4 separate regions of the Homo sapiens genome follow, and regions 1, 3 and 4 are each linked to region 2. The links are contacts of gene promoters, found by promoter capture Hi-C in blood cells and fetal thymus (Javierre and others, 2016). All regions are on one chromosome and are shown on one strand. The core of a region is centred on a gene start or on the middle of the fragment in contact, and the rest is flanking DNA. Distances in the headings are between cores, read along the strand shown. Region 1 overlaps ELDR (EGFR long non-coding downstream RNA). Region 2 holds the start of SPMIP7 (sperm microtubule inner protein 7). Region 3 overlaps LANCL2 (LanC like glutathione S-transferase 2). Region 4 overlaps LANCL2 (LanC like glutathione S-transferase 2).

What was found. The method cuts DNA at HindIII sites, captures the fragments that hold promoters and counts their contacts. A CHiCAGO score of 5 or more calls a contact.
Region 1: a fragment that was not itself captured here is called in contact with the fragment with the promoter of SPMIP7 in region 2 in 1 of 17 cell types (neutrophils); the score reaches 6.0 in neutrophils.
Region 3: a fragment that was not itself captured here is called in contact with the fragment with the promoter of SPMIP7 in region 2 in 1 of 17 cell types (neutrophils); the score reaches 8.2 in neutrophils.
Region 4: a fragment that was not itself captured here is called in contact with the fragment with the promoter of SPMIP7 in region 2 in 1 of 17 cell types (neutrophils); the score reaches 11.0 in neutrophils.

Annotation. Positions count from the first base shown.
Region 1 is chr7:55,247,216-55,253,049 of GRCh38, forward strand. The region is part of intron 2 of ELDR (EGFR long non-coding downstream RNA); the gene reads right to left. Among named protein-coding and RNA genes, the nearest start is that of ELDR, 5.5 kb to the right of the region's middle. The HindIII fragment of the contact is 3,838 bases long and covers 1,861-5,698 here.
Region 2 is chr7:50,092,382-50,098,879 of GRCh38, forward strand. SPMIP7 (sperm microtubule inner protein 7) reads left to right here and starts at 3,502. Exons shown (of 9, transcript NM_001161834.3): 1 at 3,502-4,257. The coding sequence starts at 3,705. It overlaps ZPBP (zona pellucida binding protein), which reads right to left and starts at 865. Exons shown (of 8, transcript NM_007009.3): 1 at 687-865. The coding sequence starts at 813. It overlaps LOC124901630 (a long non-coding RNA gene), which reads left to right and starts at 898. Exons shown (of 2, transcript XR_007060321.1): 1 at 898-1,349; 2 at 1,434-1,960. RefSeq lists silencers at 669-718, 799-958. The HindIII fragment of the contact is 3,144 bases long and covers 1,378-4,521 here.
Region 3 is chr7:55,422,411-55,428,645 of GRCh38, forward strand. It overlaps LANCL2 (LanC like glutathione S-transferase 2), which reads left to right. Exons shown (of 9, transcript NM_018697.4): 7 at 2,844-3,020; 8 at 5,965-6,037. Among named protein-coding and RNA genes, the nearest start is that of LANCL2, 60 kb to the left of the region's middle. RefSeq lists enhancers at 5,075-5,579, 5,580-6,082. The HindIII fragment of the contact is 1,005 bases long and covers 3,793-4,797 here.
Region 4 is chr7:55,403,292-55,409,484 of GRCh38, forward strand. All of the region lies in intron 5 of LANCL2 (LanC like glutathione S-transferase 2), which reads left to right. Among named protein-coding and RNA genes, the nearest start is that of LANCL2, 41 kb to the left of the region's middle. RefSeq lists an enhancer at 1-130. The HindIII fragment of the contact is 3,726 bases long and covers 1,042-4,767 here.

The DNA of each region.
Region 1 (5,834 bases), core at 2,530-5,029, 5.2 Mb after region 2:
TATTCTTTTTGATATTACACCAAAACGCAAAAATAGTAGTTTATCAAAGGTTCCTTGCGATGTGGAACGTGAAACCATGTCAATTAAGGCTTCTTATTCTGTCACACTCATATCCATTGCAGCTTGAATAGATCTTTTACTCAAGCAGCATTTTGTAGCAAAATGCACTGGTCATTTGGAAAATACTGGATCCTTGAGTTATGAATTTTTTCAAATGTTGTCACATTTCATTATACGATACCACAAATCACATCTGTTCATGCCACTGCTTATCTCATCAGAGAAGTCATTAGGTATTGCAAAACTGTCAGGCTCATGGGGGCAGACATAAGTTTTCCAAAATCAAAGTTATTTCTTTATAAAATATAATCACTGTTTATTTATTAATCAAAGTCAAAATGGGAAATAAAATATTTACCAGATCACTGCACTAATCCCTTTTCTGCTCTGATTCATAATTTAGGATTCCTAGCTATCAGAGATAGCAGGGTGCCAGCTGGGGTCAGGTTTCCTCTCCATCTTAGCAGTTCTGTGCTGAAAAATGTAGTTTCTTTTCATGGTGTGACCTTTTTATGAGTCCTAAGTATAGACTGGCCATTTGTAGTTGAGCTTCTGTATGGGAGCCTTCTGGTATCTTCACATAGCTGTGTTGTGTGTTTGGGGAAAGAGCTCTGCTTTTCCCACATTGAGGAAAACTCACTGCTTCCTAGGACTGGTGCATTACTGTCTTCCAGGAACTTCTCTTCAGAGTTCTCTTGGTTTAGATCCACTATTTCCTGGATCGCACAGCTTTTTAAAATTTGCTATTTGTTTTTGCCAGGTTACAGCCTTGCAGTAGTTTTCAAGAAAGATACAGAGGAGTGAAAGCAGAGGTCTCAAGGCCCTCACTGGCATGGGTGGCTTCCAAGCCCTTGGCCTTAAATTCACATGACTAATATTTTTGTAAAATTTGCAAAAATAAAACCATTCCTTTTCTACACTATCAATAAAAAACAAAATTTTGGGCCGGGCACGGTGGCTCGTGCCTGTAATCCCAGCACTTTAGGAGGCCAAGGCGGGTGGATCACGAGGTCAGGAGTTCAAGACCAGCCTGGCCAACATAGTGAAATCCCATCTCTACTAAAAATACAAAAATTAGCCAGGCCTGGTGGCAGGCGCCTGTAGTCCCAGCTACTCAGGAGGCTGAGGCAGGAGAATCGCTTGAACCCGGGAGGCGGAGGTTGCAGTGAGCCGAGATTGCACCACTGCACTCCAGCCTGGGTGACAGAGCGAGACTCTGTCTCAAAACAAACAAAGAAATAAAAAGAAACAAAATTTTGAGCAACCTTAGTAAAGAAAGGACTGAATATTTCTACTCTATAAAAATATTACGAATTGTCATTATATCAAAAGCAATCAAAGCGTGTGGGAGGAAAATACTGGCTGCCCTTTTTAGTGGAGTGGGGTTGGCACAGCAGGGCAGGTTCTCAGCTGGTCCACACCATCACCATCGCTGCACCCGCCGGCCGAGTGCGGAAGGTCTTCTGCACGTCCTTCCCTTGTGGTCTCCTTTGCACTCGCCAGCACCATTCCTAAATGGTCTTTGCATTTTCCTCTTTCATCTGACACACAGATGCCTACATGTCACTTTTGTTTTCTGAAATTATACAGAATTATCCTTTGCATAGACTGTGGTGTTCGAAGCCCCATCTGATTTCTAGTTTTGTGTGATGACATCCACCACCATCATCATCCTTCATGCACCTCATATCCCAATGTCTGCTTGGCTCACTATTTCCAGAAGCTGTTTCTGCTGCCTGGGATGTCTTTATTGCCATCCATCCCATAGGACTTGGCTCACAACCCAGTCCTTCTCTATAAAGCTTCCATAGACCCAAGCATCCTCCTCCTCCCAACCAAACTAGCCACACGCCTGCTGAACTCTGCTAGTATATCTGTGGTAGCTCCTGCCCTTATATTCACTCATGTGACTGTCTCTCTCTAGGTCATGAGCTTCTGCAGACAACAAACTCTTTACCCTGGGCAGCTAGCACAATGGTTTGTAATTAAATAATATTTATCATTTAACTTGAGAGATTAGCAAGAGATATATATGGTTCTGTGAATAGGACCTCCTTGGGTAGAAAGATCAAGAAGAGCCAGAGAACCAGAACTACGCAGACTTTTTCCTGGGGAAGCTCAATTATATTCTGAGTTTGCTGAGACTTTGCATCTTTGAAATTTAGAAAACTAGAGCAGTAAGAGCCTCTTTCCTCTGGTTTCATCATTAAGAGTGACGCAGAACTGCCTCCTTCAGACCATGACCCGAGTTTCAGGTTAAGTGAGGAGGCTCCGGCAAAGCGATCTCTCCACATTCCTCCAGGAGAGGACTGTGCAGATTGCAAAGGAAGGAGGCATGCCTGGCCATCTGAGAGCTGTGACTACAGCTCCCTCCAGACGATTTCCAGTGGAGCAGGCCTCATAATGTGGAGGTCGGCATACAGTACAGTCTGTCTCCTCGACCCCAGCTCCCACTCCTGCAGTCAAAGAGCCTGGACCTGGGCTCTGAGCCCTGTACAAGGATGAGAAGCAGAGGCAGCACTTCAGGTTTTTGTCCAGGTTTGATCATGAATGAGTAGAAGGCCCAGTAACTACCTTCCGCCTAAAAAAAACATTTTATTGGCTCCTCAAAAAGCAGGAATACAGGAGCAACTGACTCTTCTCTCTCTACCAACACCACCCTTTGACTCCCCTCACTTTGTCTCCTTTGCTCCTCACATGTTGTGGTGAAGGGAAATCCTACGGTCAAATAGTTTGCAGGAGAGCAGGGCCAGTAGACGCAAGGCTCAGTTAAAGACTTGAAGACCTGGAGAGAGAAAATCAGGGGCCCAAATGGGACCTCTGCTGCCAGGACTCCAAACTCCTGTTGTCAAAACTGTAAAATATTTTCAGAATCTAGTTATCAATTATTTTATTTTTTCTGTGATAGGAGAAAATCATGGAAGTCAATAAAGTAAGATTTAAAATAGGCCTCAAATTATTTTTTTACGGATGGTAAAAAAATAATGCATGTAGAAAAAAATACAACAGAGAAAACTTGGAAACATTTTTTTAAGTTGAAATAAAAGGTCGAATCATCCATCAGGGGCCCATGTTCTATTTTTTCTTTGCGGCTCAGGCACAGAGCTTCAGCACACAGCCTCCAGGGGGCTGTCCTGAGTCTAACCACAGTATTCCCGGAGAAAGGAGGCAAGGGCTGGGAAGGAGTGTGTCGCTGCTCTTCAGTGCCCTTCTAGGAGCTGGTGTCCACATGTCACTCGTGTCCCATCGGAGTGATTCACACGGCCACACCTCACTGGGAAGTAGAGTCTACTCTGGGTGGTTGTTCACCCAACTAAAAATTCCAAATGCATTATTGTAGAGAGAAGGGAGGGCAGGCATGGGAGAGTGCCAGTAGCCTCCAGCACAGGGTCAAATCCCAAGGACAATCTATGTTAGGCCAGCAGCAAATGAGGATGAAGACGCAAATGGGAGAGACTAAGAGGAACTGTGCAGGGAAGTCAGGGGCTGCAGCAGCCCAGCCAGAGAGGCCCAGACACAGAGATTCTTAGGAGGAAAACGAGGCAGCTGACTCCAGGAGAGAATCCAGGGGAAAAGATATATTTGGAGGGTTTTTTTTTTTTTTTTTTTGAGACGGAGTCTCGCTCTGTCGCCCAGGCTGGAGTGCAGTGGCGGGATCTCGGCTCACTGCAAGCTCCGCCTCCCGGGTTCACGCCATTCTCCTGCCTCAGCCTCCCAAGTGGCTGGGACTACAGGCGCCCGCCACTACGCCCGGCTAATTTTTTGTATTTTTTGTAGAGACGGGGTTTCACCGTTTTAGCCGGGATGGTCTCGATCTCCTGACCTCGTGATCCGCCCACCTCGGCCTCCCAAAGTGCTGGGATTACAGGCGTGAGCCACCGCGCCCGGCCTGGAGGGTTTTTAAGTGAAGTTATACCATAGGGTTTGCAGCATAAACCCTCTACACTGAACACCTACAAAATCCCTGATAAAGGTCTCGTGGCTTGTTAACGTGGTTTGGAGTGGACCTGTTTGGGTAAAGATTTGGGGGGACCCATGTCAGGGTGGGCTGAATCATTGTGCTTAAAACACACCAGAGATTGCATGGTGTATTGCAGCGGGTGATTGGTGATTGGTAGGTGAAAGAAAGATGTGCTCATTCATCCCTGAGTGGAGAGATCTCTCTGGGCTAGCCACAATGTATGAAAACAGGGCATGAAGAATGTCTCCAGCCCACATGGACTGCATTCTTGCTGGTTGGGAATGTGTCCCCAAGTTCTCCACCTTCCTGTACTAGTTAAGAAGGAAGGGCCAGGTGCAGTGGCTTGTGCCTGTAATCCCAGATATGCAGGAGGATGGCCTGAGGCCACGAGTTCGAGACCAGCCTGGGACACATAATGAGACTCCATCTCTAAAGGTAGTTTGTGCCTGTAGTTCCAGCTACTCAGGAGGCTGAGGTACACTTGGCAATTGATTACCATTCACCTTGACATCAGTGAAAGTTTTCCTGGAGATTGGGGTGTGGTTGTCTTTTGCTTTACCCTACTGTGCCTTTGCCCATGTTTGTCTTTCCTTGATTCCATGGTTTTCTGTGGAAACTGAGGGAAGCATGAGTTTGTGCCACTGTCTGGTGTCACAGAGGCCTGAGGTCTGAAAAGGTACTCTCGACCTGAGGAGTTGTCGGGTGATGGGGAGAGCATTCTAGGCAGAAACAACAATATGAAAAAATAGAGAGTTAGGAGCCCAAAGCCACAAATCAGAAATCAAGAGCAAAGAGAGCTGGAGAAGGTAGGGTGGAGTAAAAACACGTCTAGAAAGATCTAGGGCTCAGTGGGTCAGCACATCTCCTCTGAGGCGTCAGTTCCAGTCAGCTGAGAACTGCAGCCTAGTGGGGGCCTCCCGCACATTGGAAAGAGTACCTGGATTAGTCAATGAGGTTTGCCTCCAGGGGCTGGTCCTCTTTAGGAAGACCAGCAGACGCAAGGATACCTCATCACAAGCCTAAGTTAAGGGCATAGAGGGCCTGGGATGCCACTAAGAAGTCCGAGGTCTGTCTAAAGGGGCTCATTTCATAACTGAATGCCAAATACATTCAGTGATCTCAGGGTCCCAGGGCCTGCTCTTGACTAAAAATTAAGCTGAAACACCCTCTATTAAAAGCTGGCCAGAGGAGATGGTGGGTTGAATGTGGCTCCTGGGCCATGTTTGCCTCTGGAACACCAGTGCAGAGCAGCAGGGACAGGAAGAGCCCCAGGGACTTGCAGACTGGGAGGAGAGGCTTCCAGCTGCCTCTGAAAGGGAGCTTTGCTCTTTCCAATTTTCTGTTCTTTCTGTGAAAAAGTTTAAGTCCTTCTGGAGCTGGGCTGATGGCATGTGAGTGTTACCATGTGTCATTCTGTAAGTGCTCTCTGCAAATTCCTAGAGATTCTCCCTCATGCCCCAGGGGAAAAGCAATTTTTATTGTCCCACTGTGATCCATGAATCTTATCCCCAGTGTCTATGAATCCTGACTGTTGGACTTCAAACCCTCTGGGCCCTTTCTCAAAGAGCTCCACGGAAAGCAAGCTCCTGATGGCTGCCCTGACACTTCAGGCTTCCTGAAGTGTCTACTCAAAATAGTCCCTAACCTAAGGGCATGACTTTAGTAATGTAAGTTTTAAGCTTCCGCATGTCAAATTCCCCAATCCACCCAAAACAATTTCCTAAGGGCTAGCTTCCTGGGACCCCCACATTCCCCATTTTTCTGCCTAAGCCCACGTCTGGACATGGCTTGGTTCATTGCTCACAAACGCTCC
Region 2 (6,498 bases), core at 2,252-4,751:
CTTGGAGGACTTCTTTTTTTCATTATTCCTTATTTGAACAACTTTTTTCATTTGAAGCAAATCTCTGTGATTTTATCAATTTTGGGTCTAGAATTTTGAGTCTAGAATGCAGCCAAAACCTTTCTAGTTAAATAACAGTTCAATTAAACTTTCACATCCTTCGTCAGTGTTTGTTCATCAGTATCTTACATGTATTTTTAAAACAGTATAGAAAAGTACTTCAATTCTTTAGAGGTCAAAACTTTAAAATCGCATTATTTCCTGTATTTCACAGCTAAAACCAATAGATGGCGCTCCACCATCACGGATAATTTGAAAGCAGCAGGTTGCCTATTTGAAAGACACTGATCTCATCATTACAGAGTTCACACACTGAAATGCAAACCTGGCAGATGACCCATGGACTGAATTGGGGAGTTTATCAACAAAGCAATTTAATTGTAAAACTTCAACTGTGGGTGACGTAGTGATCCATCTATACCTTAATTTCCTGTCATTCACTCCTCTATGCAAATGCAGAGTGACTTTGTACGACTTCCATAAAAAATAAGCCTTTCTTGTCACGTATTAGTGAGCAAGGTGTCTCTATATAAAACGGATGCACGTGACACAAGAAAAGGCAATTCGAAGAGTGGGGGAAGCTGCGGTTGTCCCTGCGGAGCCGGCAGGGCGGCGCGGACCCTCACCTGATGAGGGCACCCGCACCAGGAAGGCGGAGATAAAGAGGAGGATGGCGGCCCGAGAGAGCAGGGAGCCGGCGGCCCGGGTCCGCCGCCTGCCCCGCCGCGCTGGGCCAAGGGCGAAGGCCTCCATCCACACGCCGCCGTCGCCTGCCCACCGTCCGCGCGGAAGGTCGTTAGGCAACGCGCGCCCACCTGCAGCCGGAAGTTGGCGGGCGGAGGACCGGAACAACGGACCTGATGGACGTGCTCCCACTTCCGCCGGGGTGGTAGACTAGGGGTCAGCCTGTGTCTCCACATAGCTGGTGGGGCCTACACGCGCCAACTGTGCTGTGCAGCCCCCGGGCCTTCAGGACAACACAGCCACGCAGGGCATCCTCAAGAACATCAGTGATTTGTCCAAGATCCTAGAGCTGAGAGAGAATCGTTGGGCCCCAAATCCCGTGCTTTTACCTTTGCATAGCGTTTATGATCGAAAAGCCCTTTTTATGAGCCAGGTGGTAGATGTGGGGCCCAGTTTCGAACAACAGATAGTGAGAATGCATGAGTTAAGACGTGTAAAGCCCTCAGTGGACTGCTTTGATCTAGTAATGTCAGCAGATAGTATTTTATGGATGTGTGGAACTTAATTGGGAGATAAATGCAATACACACTTAGTGGGAATTAAAGGTAAGTAAGGCCTTTAGCCTCAGAAAGAAGCTTGATGGAAGGACAGAGGAAATAACCATAGATGAAATTTACTTTCTAAAATAGACCGGAAGATCATCTTATAGTGTCACCTAAATTCAGCAAAACATACAAAACCATCTATCCTGTGTGGGAGACCAGAATATACCTTCTCAAATATGAAGGATTGCTGCCCTGAAGACAAGAACCAGCAGATGCAGGAGAGCTGTCCACCTGCCCTCTTTTTACCCAGAAGCAAGACATAGATTAGAAAGAGAAAAGGTATCCTGCCCCACTCCTTTACCAGGGAGAACAAAGGTTAACCACTGAAGACAGCGTCAGACCCTCATTAGCCTTGAAATGATATCAGAGGAATTAATATTAGCTTTTTTTAAACCATCTTTTGTCTGCTATTTGTTTGCTTAGCCCAAGTTACTGCCTGTAGAGACTCAGAGTCCTTTTCCTTTGTCACATCTCTAAAAATTTCCTAGTCTTTGTTGAAGATGCTATACAAGCTGGAATTCAAAGACGCTTCTTTGAGAACTACTCATTCTCTGGGTGTTCCTCATATATAAATGAAATATATTAATAAACATCTGTTTTTCTCTTGTTAATCTGTCTCTTGTAAAGGATCCATTCTAAGTACAAAGTTATGGGGGTTATTATTTTCCCATACACAGCCTAAGAGGCCATTTATAGCTAGAACTTGTTTTAGAGAAATTGAAAGAGACTCATGCCTCTACTTTTCTGCTGCTGGAAGGATTTACTTAATGGGAGCAGAGCTGTGATAGAAATAAATCTTAAGCAGTTGGTTTAAATACATTGAAGAATGAAGTTTGAGCAACTAAATGTAGAATGCCTAATTACAAGTGAGTTATCACTTTTGATATGAAGAAATGAGTGATCATGGGTGGACTAAAAACTGTCACTTGATATGCTATGATCTGGATGAAGGATTTAAAACTGACAGCCTAACCACCTAATTTAATCTCACTTGTTTAATAGTATATCTCAAAATTGTAAAGACTTTCAATGGGGCATAGGCATTCTGATTGTACCAAACATATCACCCTTGACAGTTGGCCTGATTAACGATTATGTGCCTGACTCTTCAAAGCTAGAATCTTGCCTGTTTTAACATTTTTGCTGCAGTAAGGATGATGTGAACTTTTACCCCAAATTCTAATATTTGCATTTCCTCTTATAGTAGTTCATGCAAGATGAAATTATCCAGGTGAAAGAGCTTTTAAGTGAACCAATACATTAGTGATTTAAATGATATTTTGTGTGTAGACAGTTAACTGATACCCATTGTGGTTTCCTAAAATGAACTTAAAACTCTTACTGTTCTTACTCTGGACACCATGGCAAATTTAAGGGAAGTAAAGATAATTTAGGGCATGTAAAGATGTACCTGTACTTTCATTATAATTTTCTGTTTTTCTTAAAAATTAGATATACTAGGGCTGGGCACAGTGGCTCACACCTGTAATCCCAGCACTTTGGGAGGCCGAGGCGGGCAGATCACAAGGTCAGGAGATCGAGACCATCCTGGCTAACACAGTGAAACCCCATCTCTACTAAAAATACAAAAAATTAGCCGGGCATGGTGGCGGGCGCCTGCAGTCCCAGCTGCTTGGGAGGCTGAGGCAGGAGAATGGCGTGAACCTGGGAGGCGGAGCTTGCAGTGAGCCAAGATCACACCACTGCACTCCAGCCTAGGCGACAGAGTGAGACTCCACCAAAAAAAAAAAATTAGATGTACCAATTTAACTTTAGTAATGTTTATATTTTGTAGTGCATTTAGATTTACATTTAATTAGATAGCAAGTGTTATATATATAAATACTTAATTGTAGTCACATATATACTTTTGAGAAATGTATTGTCACTGAATTAACTGCTTTATTTACACTCCTTAAATATATTTTATACCCATAAAATACCAACTTATGGAAAAATTTTAAAATAAGTAAATGAACACAGCTTTCCTGAGCACTGGGGAGAAAAGTATCATGGAAATATTAGTACCAAGGCTATTTTTGTTTTTCTTAAGAATTGTGATGTACATAATAAATGGTTCAATGTGTTAAGAATTCTAGCCGTTGCCAGGCAACAAGGGCTCTGCTTTATTCTCCTTATGTCATGTTCCTTCATTGCCCTATTCTTCCTTTGGTGGAGGAAAATATTTGCCTTAAAAAGAAAAACAAAATTATCTGCCAACATTTAGAAAGCTGTGTCAATTTTATACTAGTTTAACACAGATCTTTAGTTATTGGCAATAGAGTTTATATAGTTAAATATAAAGGAATTATCAGAAATACTTTATAGTTATCAAAAATTCTAAAGAAAAAGGCCATGGATGTAGAAATTCAGGACACACCTGGAAAGATAAGTATCTCTAAAAGGTCCATCCTTTCAGGAACTGTTGAGAATATAGATTACCCACACTATTGTGATCTCTTAAGAAAAATGAACATGCCTTTTGTGAAAGGTCTTGAGAACAGACATAACTATGGCAGGTTTGAAAAGAAATGCAACCCTGCTTTTCTTAAATTTCACCCTTATCCCCCTTCAGTTTTGCCAGACTATCATTTACATGATCCTTATCCCCCACCATATGGGCCACATTATCCATTATTTCCACTTCGGGATGATGTGACCTTAGGTGATTCCTGTTCAGGGTTTATGAGTCCTGGTGGTGATGCTGATTTAAATCCTGGCATTGGCAGAACCATACCAACCCTAGTGGATTTTAGTGATGTGAAACCTCAACATCGAGTTCCCAGACCAGACACAGGATTTCAAACAACAATAAAAAGGCAAAAAATTCTATCAGAAGAACTGCAACAGAACAGGAGATGGAATTCCAGGGAAGTACCAGACATTTCTATCAGAGCAAGACTTGGAGGTAAATGAAGTGACATGAACTTTCTATTTTTTAAATGCTCAAGGGAAGAGAGTATGGACATAAGATTCAATATTTAGGCAGTTAAATTAACAAAATTACAATGATCTGAAAAAGGTTTTATTTTTAAATTACAGATTATAAGAAACAAAGGAATGATAAACCTTATAAACTTATTTGTAAAAGAAAATTTATTCTTTAAGAAAAGAACATTCATTAGTGATTAACACAAAGTATATAACATTATTTATTCTAGATATATGGATAAGCTTGTTTTACCACAGGGGAATTTATGTATCACTTTGATAATTGTATAGAAATCCTCCTTATCTGTCTCTCTCCTTTGAAAGAATGAATTCACTGATATTATGAAAGAGTTAGTTTTAAGGATTGAAATAAAATGGGAAAAATTTAAGTACTTGAACGTACATTTTTTGGCTCCAATAAGAACAGAAGCTGAAATGAAGCAAACTCTGCATAAATAGCTCCACAGCCATGGAGGCAGGTTTGATGACCTCTTACTGACATCTGCACCATGTGGTTTCTCTGTAAGAACTCCTGTAAATGGAGTTCCTCTAAATGATGAGAAACACCTCCAAAGGAAAGCCACAGGTACTATTTTCTGTATAAAAGCTGTCTGGCAGGCAGGAATGTAAAAAGATCAACATTTTTAGCATCGGAAAAGGAAAGGGCCAAATGCTATAGGAAGAATACTTTTAAACATTATTCTAAGAAATTATAGGTTGAAGAAATGGCTTAGCAAAGCTAACATAGGGCTAAAATGGTGTTAACAGACTTTGTACCACCAAGTCAGAACCAAGTATAGAGCTCATCTGTCCCATGTATTTCACTGCCTGAATCAGTGAAACAGAGGAGTTTAGAGAACAGGCTTTAGACTCAGACTGTCTGGCCTTGAGCTCTGGCAAAAACTCAGTTGCTGTACGACCCAGGGCTAGTTACTATTCTCTTTATGCCTGTGTATCCTTACTTGTAAAACTCACCTAAGAGTAAAACTTCATAAGATAATAAGTAAGGGTCATTTTATGTTAAAAAAAAAAAAAAACTCACCTAAGAGTGAAACTTCGTAAGATAATAAGTAAGGGCCATTTTATGTAAAAATACCTAAAATAAAGAATAAATGTCAGATTGTAAGAAGTCCAAAATTTTCAGTTTCTTCATACATAAATTAGGAATAATCTTACTTCTTTTATACATTTGTAAGAATCAAATGAATTAACACTTGTAAAGTGCTTAGCAGAATCCCTGAAACCTGATAAAACATTTCATTAATAGTAGCTCTTATTATTAACTATTAAGAGTTTCAAAAAGTAATACCTGCAATTTGGGGACAGAGTTCAATATAATTTGTCCTAGGCTTTCAATGACTTTGTACATCCTGGAAACAATTAATTGTAAATGATAAGTACTTTCAGGATGTAACAAACCTAAATACACGTTATTTCTAATACATTCTCATAAAGACGGTCATTTCAGAATTAATTACATACACACTGGTATGCTCTTCAGTGGACTTTCACAAATATCAAAGAAAAATCATAAAATATTATATTGCTGATTTCTACTTGCCCCATTCCAAACCTGTGTAGACCTTTTACTGAGTTTAGTACTTCCTTTCTTGATCCAGTTGTCTCTCTTTATCATCTACCAATTAACAATTCTAAACTTATTCTAATTACATTCAGATCCTTTATAGTACTCTGCCTCTCATTGCAGTAGATGATCCAGTCTTTGTTATCACAGAAGAGATAGACCTCATCTATTGTCACTTCCTTGATTGTCCTCCACTTTGGCCTCCTGATATCAATATTGATACCACTTTGTATGTCTTTCTATCTTTTTTTAAACCATTGTATTAAGTCACTTTGCATGACAAAATACTAAAGGCTGGGTGGCTGAAACAACAGATAATTGTTTCTCATAGTTCTAGAGGCTGGGAAGCCAAGAATCATGGAATTGGTATATTTGATTGCTGGTAAAGACCTTCTTTCTAGTTTATAGAAGGCATCTTTTTCCTTGCATCCTCAGAGAGAGAGAGAGAGAGCTCTAGTCTCCCTTCCTCTACTTAACACTAATGCCATCATGGAGGTCTTACCTTATTTGCCTCATCTAAAGCTAATTACCTCCCGAAGTCTTCACCTCCAAATAACATCACATTGGGAGTTAGGCTTCAACACACGAATCTGGGGGGATACAGACATTCACCACAACCATCTTTATAGTTAA
Region 3 (6,235 bases), core at 3,045-5,544, 5.3 Mb after region 2:
TTTTTCTCTAGAGGCTTTCACAGTTTCCTCTTAATTTTGGGTTTTCAATAGTTTAACTGTTACATGCCTAGATGTATTTGTATTTATCGTGCTTAAGATCCTTTGAACTTGAATTTGTAAGTGTGTATCTTTTAGTACACTGGGGTGACTGGCCACTCTTTTCCTACAGGTTCCTGAGGCTTTTGTTTTCCAGATTTCTCGTTCTTCTCTGTAATTCGGATCAGATGATTGCTATTTCCCTGGTTTTGTATTCATTCATGATTTCTTCTGTTATGTCCAGCCTGCTCTTAAACCCACCCAGTGAGTTTTGTAATTTTACCTATTGATGTTTTCTAGGTCCAGAATATCCCTTTGTTTCTGTCTTATTCTCCCTTTCTCTTCTGAGGGTTCACTGATGATGAGTATAGTTCCCTTTTCATCTTTGAAGATATTTCTAGTAACTGCCTAAAACCCTTGTCCCTATTTCTGACGTTTGGGTCATCTTGGGATCCATCTGTTTTGTAGCATGGGCGCACAGGCCCAGGTCGGGTGCGGTGGAACAGGGACTCTAGCCCTGCCTCTGACTCCAGAGCCCTCGGGTTTTCCTTTGCATTGTGCTGTCTTTTCACACTTTCTGTCCTGTACTGCCCAGGGAAACTTACCATTTGGGGGAGGTAATGTGGATAAGTACATGGATTTTGTAGCCCATGTATGATTGCTGTAATACAATGTGGAGAAGATGTATCTGTGATTAAGTCCAGGAGCTTTTTTCTATAGTTCTGAATTCTTGGATGTCTCGCTGTTAGAAGTAGCTGTTTGCTTAGAGCATGAGTGTATGTGGTGGCAGGAGTGGGCATGGTAGGCTGCTGGTGCTGAGAAGCAGCAGTGCAGGCTGCATTGTGGGCATGGCTCTAGCAGCCTCAGCCTCGCAGGCGCAGGGACGGCATGAAGGAACCCTGTTCAGTTTCCCTGTGGACCATCACTCACCCAGGCTCCACCAGCAGGGGCAGCTCCAGCTCACTTTAGGGCTGGCCTCACTGTGTGATTTCAGAACACAGCCTCTCAAACAATATCTTCTCACCCATTAGCTTTGACCAAATATTTCCTTAGGATGGGAAAACATGTTTTCCTTTACAGTTCATTTTCAGAGGCTTAAGATGCAAGTGACAGGATGAAGTGTGTGTGCCGGCACAATACCGTAGAAAGAGTAATGGTTAATCATAGCCAGGAAATAGCTAGCACTTCCCATGTGCCAGGCACTGTTCCAGGAGCTCCATGGATGTGATCACATTTTAATCTTCATAGCAAGCCACTGAGGTGAAGGAATGTCATCCCTTTATAGTTGAGAAAACTAAGACATAGACTTTCAGTGACTTATCCAAGGTCACACAGTTAAAAGGTGACAGTAGGGACTCAGCTCAGGCTGTCTGACCCCAGAGCCCACATCTTAGCAGCCTTTGTGACTGATAGAGGGTGTCCTGCGTCTGATTCCCTAACAGCCTAACTTTGGGAACATTTAATCTCCCTGGTGATTTGCTGTGCCTCTGTTTCCCGCTGTGCCCTCTGTAGACACTGGTCGCAGTTCTCATGCCCTGCCCCCCAACCTCCGCCTTTTTCCTGAGGCCTCAGAGCCCTTCTCGGCTGAGTGTCCAGCTCATCAGTCACAAGTAGAGGGACCTGACCTGCCACCCAAGTAGTGATGACCTTTGTGCCTCTGATTCATTGTCCAAAACCCATTTGCACTGGAATGTGATGAGTTTAGCAGGTAGGGATAACTAAGAACAGACTCTGAGAAAAGGATCAGGAAAACAGTACATGGCCTGTGAGGAGAAAGAAGAAAATGTACAAGGGAATCTCAGGAAGTGAAAACCCACAGCTGCTTCTTGCCGTCTCTTGCCTTCACTGAGCCTGCCTGTCTCTGCAGCTGACCATATAAACAACTCAGGGAGGTGGTGCTTGCTCCTGGACCCCAGAAAGCTTTGTGCCAGCTTCCTTGGGATGGGTGAAGATGGATCTTCCTAGCCTGGTGGTGCAGGGTCCTCAGGTCCTGTTGATGTGTACTGATCAGTGTATTGGATACTCTTGCCCTGCTAACAGGGCCTCACTCTCTCGATTGCCTTCTACAAGAGCAGAAGTTTTAGAGCTATGGGATGTATGTGCCAAGAAACAAGGAAAACATCTTACCAAAAAGATATGGCAGCTTTAATTTTAATTTTAAAAACTAAATTTTAGCATTACTTTAGTAAAACCGTGAAACAGAAGGAGGACAAGGGGAATAGGCTAATGCAGGGGTCCCCAGCCCCCAGGCTGTGAATTGGTACTGGTCCGTGGCCTGTTAGGGACTGGGCTGCACAGCAGGAGGTGAGCAGCAGCGAGCAAGCGAAGCTTCAACTGTATTTACAGTCGCTCCCCATCACTTGCATTACTGTCTGAGCTCTGCCACCTGTCAGATCAGCGGCCACATTAGATTCTCGCAGGAGAGCGAACCGTATCGTGAACTGCTTATGCGAGGGATCTAGGTTGCGCGCTCCTTATGAGAATCTAACTAATGCCTGATGATCTGAGCTGGAACAGTTTCATCCCGAAACCATCCCCCACTCACCTTCCTGGCCATTGAAAAATGGTTCCACAAAACCAGTCACTGGTGCCAAAAAGGTTGGAGACCGCTGGGCTAATGGATTGAGATTGCGAGATTCTATGTACTGTGTTGCTGGTGTTTTTTTGTTTGTTTGTCTGTTTTTCACCCCCAGTGCCATTTCAGTTTTCCTAATATCATGCCATATTCTAACCAGAAAGGGAAAGTATTTTGCCAACTCATCGTTGAAACTGTCTTTTTAACACTGCTTTGTTTTTAATTTGCCCAGGTCTTTAAGGAGGAGAAGTACTTGAAAGAGGCCATGGAGTGTAGCGATGTGATTTGGCAGCGAGGTTTGCTGCGGAAGGGCTACGGGATATGCCATGGGACTGCTGGCAACGGCTATTCCTTCCTGTCCCTTTACCGTCTCACGCAGGATAAGAAGTACCTCTACCGAGCTTGCAAGGTGAGGGTGGCTCTGTTGGAACTGCTTCTGAACAACCCCGAGTGTGCACAGAATCCAGAGTCCAGAAGTACAACTCCTGTTCCTTCTTTTAACCTGTTTCTCCCAGTTCTGTAGCTTCCTCTTTTTCTTCTGGCACAGCCTTATCTGTGGTTTCTCTGGGCCACAGTGTCCCTGTCTGTAGAATGGAGAGGACAAATGTCAATGGCTTCTGAAGAATATGTGTCCTGGAGTCACTACGTGATGAGAATTACCACCTGTGCCATTTATTGGCTTTATGAGTTTGGATATGTCTCTTCTTCAAGCCTCAGTTTCCTCATTTGTACAGACAGAAAAAAAATACTACCCACCTCCTAAGGATGTTCCAAGCAGAACTGAGCTAATGTGCAGATTGTTTGTAATCGTCCTGCCAAAACCCTCCACGGCTTCCCATTGACTGCAGATGGAGCCTATGCTCCTCCGCTGAGTTGACAGAGCCCTGCGCACCTTGGCCCCTCTCTGTGTCTCTGCCTGATCTCCTTGCCTTACCCTGCCCTCTAGCCCGCCATAATACAGCCATGTTGCCCTCTCTAAGAACGGAGTGTGTCACTCTTGTTTCCGCTGGACCTGTCGTTAACTGTTCCCTTCAGGAGCACTCTTCCTTCAGCTCCTTGCCATGCTGATCTGAATTGTGACATTCTTGGAGGGATCTTTGAGACCCCCCAAGTGGATGATCACTCAGTTGCTCATTGTATGTTTTGGCTTGTTTCTTGAGTGTGTAGGCTGGTAGAACATAAGCTTCTTGATCTTGTCTGTCTGGGTCACTATTCTACACTAGTACTTGGAGCAGTGCATAGCACCGAGTAGAAACTCAGTAAACATGCACTGGACATGTGAAGATGAATGGCATAGAGCAAGACTCAGTAAATGTTTGCTAGTATTTTTATTATGTACACATTTCACAAAATGTAGTTGTGTGCACACAGAAAAAAGATTGGAAGAAAATACACTAAAGTGTGTACAGTGACCCTTGTTAGATGGAGGCATTGCGGCTGATATGTTCTTTATACTTTTTGAACATCTATTACTTTCTGAAGACTTCTCAACCCCAGTGGAATGGGCCCTACCTCGTTGGTGCACTGGAAAATGCACACACATCTGTGGCTCCCCCACTGATGGAAGCATGAAGGAGGCTGTGGAAGCAAAGAGGGCAGGGCCCAACTTGGCATAGCAGGTCAGCAAGGGATGTCTCAGCCAAGACCTGAGGGACAGCTCGAAATTAAGCAAAGGGGGATGAGGAAAGATGTGAAAAGGAGAAGAAACTGCTGTTCCAAAGGCCCGGAGGTGTGAGCACCCAGGGCCTGTGTGAACTACACTGTGGCTGGAGCACGGGGGATGGGGCAAAACAGGAGCCAGCGAGCGGGGAGCAGCCAGATTCCGCAGGCCTGGGCCAGCCTTGATGATGTGATGATGGTAGATGACTATGCAAATATGGGCAATGCGAGAAGACCGCAGGAGGGGTGAGACGCAGCCGGTTCTTTAAAGATGAGGGGTTTTTCAGGTGGGCCAGGCAGGGGTGGCCTGCAGAGGTGGAATGCAGTTCTGATAAGGAGAATAGCTTGGGCAGAGCTGCAGAGCACGAACCAGCTCTGTGTGTTCCTGACTCCGTAAGCACTTCAGCCTTTGGGATGCAAAGGGAAGGAAATGTGTGGCCAAAGGTAAAAGTCAGACAGGTGGGTAGAGGCCAGAGAAAGTTAGTTCTTCCCTGTAGCCAGTAGTTCTCAACCTTGTACCACTGGGAAGCTTTCAAATCATGCCTGGACCTCACTCTAGACCAGTTAAATGAGGAAGCCTCAGCACTAATATTTTTCAAGCTCCCCCAGTAAGTTTAATAATCAGCTAGCACTGGATACTGATATGGAAGATGGGGGCTCATGGAAGGGTTTGGAATCCATATTCAGACTCCTCTTTTGGAAAGATTGCTGTAGTCCCAGTAGGAAGAATGAGGCGGGCTTGGGTTTCCCCAAATAGTGGTTTAGTAATTAATGCAAGAAATGTTGAGTCATAAACCAAAGCATAGGTTGGGATAAAAAATGAGACATTTAGAAACACCTATGATGTAAAGCCCACAGAATTTAACGCATGTTTTTAAATGTGGAGAAGATGGAAATATCTGAAGGTCTTTCTGTTGTCTGACTCGGAAAACTGGGTAGATGGGCCATCAAACAAGCTAAGAGTGAGCAGATTGGGAGGGGAAAAGCAGAGTGAGTTTCTTTTTACGTGTGCTGAACTTGATACTCCTCATGTTTATTACTTATGATTCTTAGTGTACAAATGACCCTTCAAATTATGATAGCTTAGGCACAAAAGGGAAGTTTATTAAAACGATATGGAAACACCCATTGAAGAGGTCTAAGAAGAAAGGGTCAAGGAGCTCAGAGGAGAGCACAGGGAGGGCTGAGGGCCGGGGGCTGGGAAGGTGGAGAGGCTGCCAAGCAGCAGCAGCAGCTGTGGAGGGGCTGCAGTGAGAGGCGGCGCCCCAGGCAGGGCTGAAGCTGTTTCCCAGCTGGGGCCAGGGGAGCCAGCAGCTGCTGCTGAGAGCCATTTTAGAGCCAGGGTTTTTTGTTCAGGATAGAGCAGGCGTTTCGAGTTGCTTCTGGAATCATCAGCTGAAGCGGCAGGAGGAAGGTGCCAGGGAGAACAGAGTGTCGTTGAGCCGTTCGGTTTTCACCTCGGACTTCCCAGCAGCTGTAAGGCAGACCCCACTCTACAGCTGAGGCAGCCGCAAGCAGAGCCTTGCTGGGCCTCACCCCTGGAAGAGGGGGTGCAGTAGCCCATGGAGCCCACGCTGAATGCCCTACAGCTGGGGGTCCACTTCCCTGATGCCTGTGAAGACATTGCATTCTCATTTATTGCCTTTTCACCAGGTAGAAACTCCAGTCTTAAAAAGAAATCCCTTTCTTTTCAGTTTGCAGAGTGGTGTCTAGATTACGGAGCACACGGGTGCCGCATTCCTGACAGACCCTATTCGCTCTTTGAAGGTAAGAGTGAGAAAAATGCTATAGATTAAATGTTTGGGTGAAATTGGTTCTCCTGCCCTTGTGGACTGGCACTGTTCATATTTGACCTGGCTCAAGTAATACTTCCAAACTGTAAAATAATCAGCAGAGTAGCTTATTGCTGAAAATTATGTTGAATCTCTTCACCTTACCTATTGTTTTGTGCTCCTGTGAATGTCT
Region 4 (6,193 bases), core at 1,655-4,154, 5.3 Mb after region 2:
AACCAGTCAGGCATGGCGGCGCGCGCCTGCAATCGCAGGCACTCGGCAGGCTGAGGCAGGAGAATCAGGCAGGGAGGTTGCAGTGAGCCGAGATGGCAGCAGTACAGTCCAGCTTTGGCTCGGCATCAGGGGGAGACCGTGGAAAGAGAGGGAGAGGGAGAGGGAGAGGAGGGAGAGGGAGAGGAGGAGCCTTTCCAATTTTCTTTCGGTATGGAGTCTTAAAGCAGATTAGTTATCTGTTCCCCACACTTTTCTGGGTTTTTTTTGTTTGTTTGTTGTTTTTTTTTTTTTTTTTTTTGAGACAGAGTCTCACTCTGTCGCCCAGGCTGGAGTGCAGTGGTGTGATCTCGGCTCACTGCAACCTCCACCTCCCAGGTTCCGGTGATTCTCCTGCCTCAGCCACCCGAGCAGCTGGGACTACAGGCGCGCACTACCACCTCCAGCTAATTTTTGTATTTTTAGTAGAGACGGGGTTTCACCATATCGGCCAGGCTGGTCTCAAACTCCTGACCTCATGATCCGCCCACGTCAGCCTCCCAAAATGCTAGGATTATAGGCATGAGCCACCGTGCCTGGCTTGCCCACCCTTTTCTTCTGTGCTTGTCTTCCTGTTAATTGCAGTAGGAACTCTTAATGGGGAAAAATCTTCAGGGAGCAACAGGGCCTGCAGAACCCAACTGAGGCAGAGACTTTGTCATGTCCTGATAACTTTGCTTGCTGTCAGTTGTCTTCTGTGCTTTTGATGAGTTTATTGCTGTGGTTATGATCTTGTCTCTCAAACATCCCTGACAACGATAGAGTACTGACTCTTCTATCAGGCCAGTAGAGACCCCATAACTAAACATTGCTTCAGGCTGTGCTTGGCTTGAGCATAAGCCTAGGGCTTCAGCCTAGCCTGTGGCCTAAGTTCTCTTCCCTGCCAAGCGCACAGCCGCCTCTGCCACCGCCTCCTCCTCCTTCTTCTCCTCCTCCTCCCTCCTCTACCTTTCTTCCTGCCCACTGTTCTCCTCCTCCTCCTTCTTTCTTCTTCTTTTAAATTTAAGCTTTCTTTATTCTGCAAAACTACAAAACTAGTAAGTCAAAGGATATGGATTAGAATTTAGATATCTTAGACTGGAAAACCTATATATTACTTTTTAAAATTTTACTTCAGATTCTTTTTATGTCTAACCTACTGCCTCATGTTCTCACTCACTAAAGGAAACCAGGAAATTCATACCTACACAGGATTAAAACTTTTTCTAGTTATTGTCTTTGTTTATTGTTGTTGAAAGTAAAACATGCATATATGCATATAGTTCATTTTGTGAATTTTCTTTCTTTTTTTTTCTTTTTTTTTTGAGATGGAATCTTGCTTTGTCGCCCAGGCTGGAGTGCAGTGGCGCCATCTCAGCCCACTGCAACCTCCGCCTCCTGGGTTCAAGCCATTCTTCTGCCTTAGCCTCCTGAGTAGCTGGGATTACAGGCATGCACCGCCACACCTGGCTAATTTTTGTATTTTTAGTAGAGATGGAGTTTCGCCATGTTGGCCAGGTTGGTCTCGAACTCCTGACCTCTGGTGATCCACCCACCTCAGCCTCCCAAAGTACTGGGATTACAGGCTTGTGAATTTTCTTCATGATGCAGGTACATGCTTTCAAAGTAACCAGAATTCCATACCTCATTTAAAAATGGCACTGTTATTTTGAACAGTTAGATTTTGTGTATGTGTTAGGGTTCTCCAGAGAAACAACCAATAGGAGATAAATATTATATATGAGATGGGATTTCTTAAAGGAATTGGCTCACGCAACCATGGAGTCCCAGAAGCCCCATCATCTGTCATCTACAGTCCTAAGACCTGGGAATGCCAGGGCTGTAACTCCACTCCGAGTCAGAAGACTGAGACCCAGGGGAGCCAAATCCCAGTCCAAGGGCAGGAGGAGACTGTTGCCCTGGTTGAAGCCGGCAGGCAGGAAGGAACAGATGTTTTCTTTCTCTGCCTTTGGTTCTGTTCAGGCCTTGGAGGGACTGGATGAGGTGCACCCACTTTGGGGAGGGCCATCTGCCTGACTGAGTCCACACCGTTCAATGCTAATCTCAACTGGAAACACCTTTAGAGACACACCCAGACACCATGTTTAATTTGACACATAAAATTATCTATCATAGTGTATTCTGTATTTTCCCGGGAAAATGTTTTAACAGTGGTTCAGGAACTTTTTTTTTTTTTTTTTTTTGGGACAGGGTCTCACTTTTGCCCAAGCTAGAGTGCAGTGACACAATCTCTGCCTACTGCAAACTCCATCTCCCGGGTTTAAGTGATTCTCCTGCAGCCCCACGAGTGTGCTGGGATTACAGGCGTCCACCACCATGCCTGGCCGGAACTTTTTTTTTTTAATGCTAATTCCCTTAGGGGAACATAGTAATGTAAGAACCATGCCAGTGTCTTTCATGTGTTTAGGCTGATTTTGCTGTATATTATGGACTTCCTTGGGAGGAATACAAATCATAAAATACTCCATTGATCTGCTTTTAAAGTGAGGAACTTGGAACACTATGTAGTAAGTACTTGACTTAGAGATTGAGCCAGGTTTTCTTTCAAGATTCTTAGGCAGTGGCGTGGTAGAGCCAGCATGGGGAGCTGCCCGCATCTCTTCCCTGCTGCACGGTTCGTGGCTGTTGTCAGTGCAGAACTACGATTCAGAAATGTGGAAAGGAGGGCTTTGTTTCTCATACAGGGTTACAGCCTGCAGCTAATCATACGTAGCCTTGGGCTAGAAGCCAGAAATATTCTGAGGGAGTGGAAAGGGAGCAGGAACGTATGCCAAGCCAGGTGGCCGAATGTATGTGTCGGTGAGCTGCAGGAGGAGTGGAGTAGTTGCTAGAGAAGTGTGTGCCTGCAGACTTGGACTTCGTGCTCCTTCTTGAGATCCATGTTCAGAAAATGGTGGCACAAGCGGGATCCAAGGGTAGCATTTTCCACCCTCTGAGTCAAAAGGTGAAGCAGAGGAACAAAACCCCTCCCTGCATGTCCTTCATAGGCTGGCCAGAGCGTCCCTGGTGCCTTCTCAGGAACAAGTGCTGGCTGCTTGGGTTGTTGAAGCCACAGAAGATGGGGGAGCAGTCAGGTGGTTGTCGCTGGCAGTGCAGAGTCGGCTGAAAGATCTGGTTCCCGCTTAGCCCTTAGGGCAGAAAGCCTCATGGGGTCAGCAGGGGACGGGCAGAGCAGGGTGAGCCCCACCTCTTAGCCTGTCATGACTGGGAGCTTAGCTTCAAGGTTGCCTCAGGCTTCCTTGGCCAAGAAAGGGTCTGCTCAGTGAGTTGGGGGCTTAGAATTTGGTTCTTATTTCTCATTGTCTAGTAGTTTAGTCATGTAAAAGTGGTAGTTTCAACTGGAGGGTGTCGTTGGAAGGCTATCAGAACAATATATGCAAAAACTCTTAAAATATCACTTAAAAAGAACTCCACTTTCATGATAGCAGAATAAAAACAGTTCGCCTCTTGAAAATAATCTCAGAACAACCAGAAAAACAACAAAACAGAAACCGAAGTTCTTTGATGAAGCTAGGGGACATCTGGAGCTCCAGCTGCAAACCTGTGAACTGAAGCAGGCAAAAGAATGACAGCTGACCTGCTGGGATGAAAGATGGCGTCAGTGCCCGAGGGGGACGGTGCCCACGAGAAGCAAGTCAGTTTGTTCTACAGAACCCCAGAACTCAGGAGGGGAAAGTGCCATGTCCCCAGTAGGCATTGCCATACGTGGGCTTGGGGGACTCTCTGGCACAGGAGGCTTCTTTGAGCATGTGCAGTGGTTGGACCTCTGTGAGCACCTGCACCCAGCACAGGGAGGGAACTGCCTATCCTTCAACTCGTGCTGGAGACAAAAGGAGTTAGGTCTGGAAAAACTGACTAGGCTCTTTTCAATTCAGGAAAGCCAGATGTAGAAGAGAGTTGGAGTGAAGCACAGAACTAAAAATAGGGGGCGAGAGTGAGTGTCCATGGTCCAGGGTGAGACTGCCTCTCTGTCACCGCCAGCCTCAGGCACCGTCACCTCTCCCTCACCCCAAGGGGCAGCACCACCTCCACCCCACTCGGGGCTTGAAGTCACTTTTCCGAAGAAACAAGTAGCTCAGATAAAAGTTTCATAAGTACAGGTATTTGAAAGCCCCCATTAAAAAGTTAGTCTGCCATCCATGATGGTTAATTTTATGTGTCAACTTGACTGAGCCCTGGTGCCCAGACATGTGGTCAGACATTCTGGATGTTTCTTTGAGGGCGTTTTTGAATGAGATTTACATTTAAGTTGGTGGACTTTGAGTGAAGCCAGCTGCCCCATAGGATGTGAGTGGGCCTTGTCAATCAGTTGAAGGTCTGACTAGAACAAAATGCTGGACCCCCAGGCAAGAGAGGATTCTCCAGCACTCTGCTTTCAGACTCCAGCTGCAGCTCCTTCCTGAGTCTCCAGCTTGCTGGCCACCCCAGGCAGTTTGTGGACTCATGAAGCCTCTGCAGCCAGTTCCTTGGAGTGAATCTCTTTCTCTACTTTTACACATCCCGTTGGTCTACTTCTTTGGAGACCCCTGGCAATCCCCCATCCAGCCACTCCACAGTGATTCCCACCGTTCCGCAGCCCCTCCGGTGCACTGAGGACAGCGAGGAGCTGTGCCTTATGCGTGAGCACAGACCAGTAGCCGATGAGCGGACATGGCAGAAAAGCCCCAGCTTGAAAGATGGAGACCTGAACAAGTAGAAATAAAAACAAAGAGAAAGCAGGAAGTGGAAGAAAGCTTCGAATAAATAATAATTCATAATTAATATCCTCAGGGAAATAAGAGAAGCTGTTGCATCCAAGAAACAAACATTTGAGGGAAAAAGAGAGCTCTTGAAAATAAAATATATAATAGCTGAATTTTTAATAAGTTCATGAAAATGGGAAGCAAAGTCACATATCTTAGAAAGCAGGCAGAAATAGACAATGGGAGAGGAAAACGTAAGAAAGAGGATTAATCCAGGAGGTTCAGCATGTGACTAGTGGGAGACCTAGTGAGGGAGAACACACAATAGGAGGGAGGAAAATAACACAAAAATATGCTCTAGAAATGAGGGACATAGGCTGGGCGCAGTGGCTCATGCCTGTAATCCCAGCACTTTGGGAGGCCGAGGTGGGCGGATCACTGAGGTCAGGAGTTTGAGACCAGCCTGGCCAACACAGTGAAACCCCGTCTCTACTAAAAAAATACAAAAAATTACCTGGGCCTCATAGCGGGCACCTGCAATCCCAGCTGCTTGGGAGGCTGAGGCAGGAGAATCGCTCGAACCCGGGAGGGAGAGATTGCAGTGAGTCGAGATCACGCCACTGCACTCCAGCCTGGGTAACAGTATGAGACCCTGTCTCAAAAAAAAAGAAAAAAAAAGAAATGAGGGACATAGTTGCATATTGGAAAGACCTACCAGTTTCCTACACAATGAGTGCAGACAGACAAATCCACATCATGCCCGTTATTGTGAAAGCTTAAGATAAAGGGATAAAGAGACAATGCTTAAAACATTAGACGGGAAATAGCTGGGTGTAGTGGCATGCGCCTGTAGTCCCAGCTACTCGGGAGGCTGAGGCAGGAGAATTGCTTGAACCCAGGAGGTGGAGGTTGCAGTGAGCCGAGATCGTGCCACTGCACTCCAGCCTGGGCGACAGTGAAACTCTGTCTCAAAAAAAAAAAAAAAGAAAAGAAAAAAACAGGTTATGTACAAAGTCCAAAAATGACATTGGACTTTGCAACAGTTTCATTGAAGCTAAAAGATAAATGGAAATGATTTCCAAGTTTTTTTTTTTTTTGAGACGGAGTCTTGCTCTGTTGCCCAGGCTGGAGTGCACTGGCGCGAACTCGGCTCACTGCAAGCTCTGCCTCCCGGGTTCATGCCATTCTCCTGCCTCAACTCCTGAGTAGCTGGGACTACAGGCACCTGCCACCATGCCCGGCTAATTTTTTTTTTGTATTTTTTAGTGGAGATGGGGTTTCACCGTATTAGCCAGGACGGTCTCGATCTGACCTCATGATCCACCCGCCTCGGCCTCCCAAAGTGCTGGGATTACAGGCGTGAGCCACCGTGCCCGGCCAACTTCCAAGTTTTGAGTAAAAATGATTTCTAACGTTGCATTCTGCCCAGAAAGTTACCAATTAAATGTGGAGTAGAGCAAAGACTGTTTAAAACA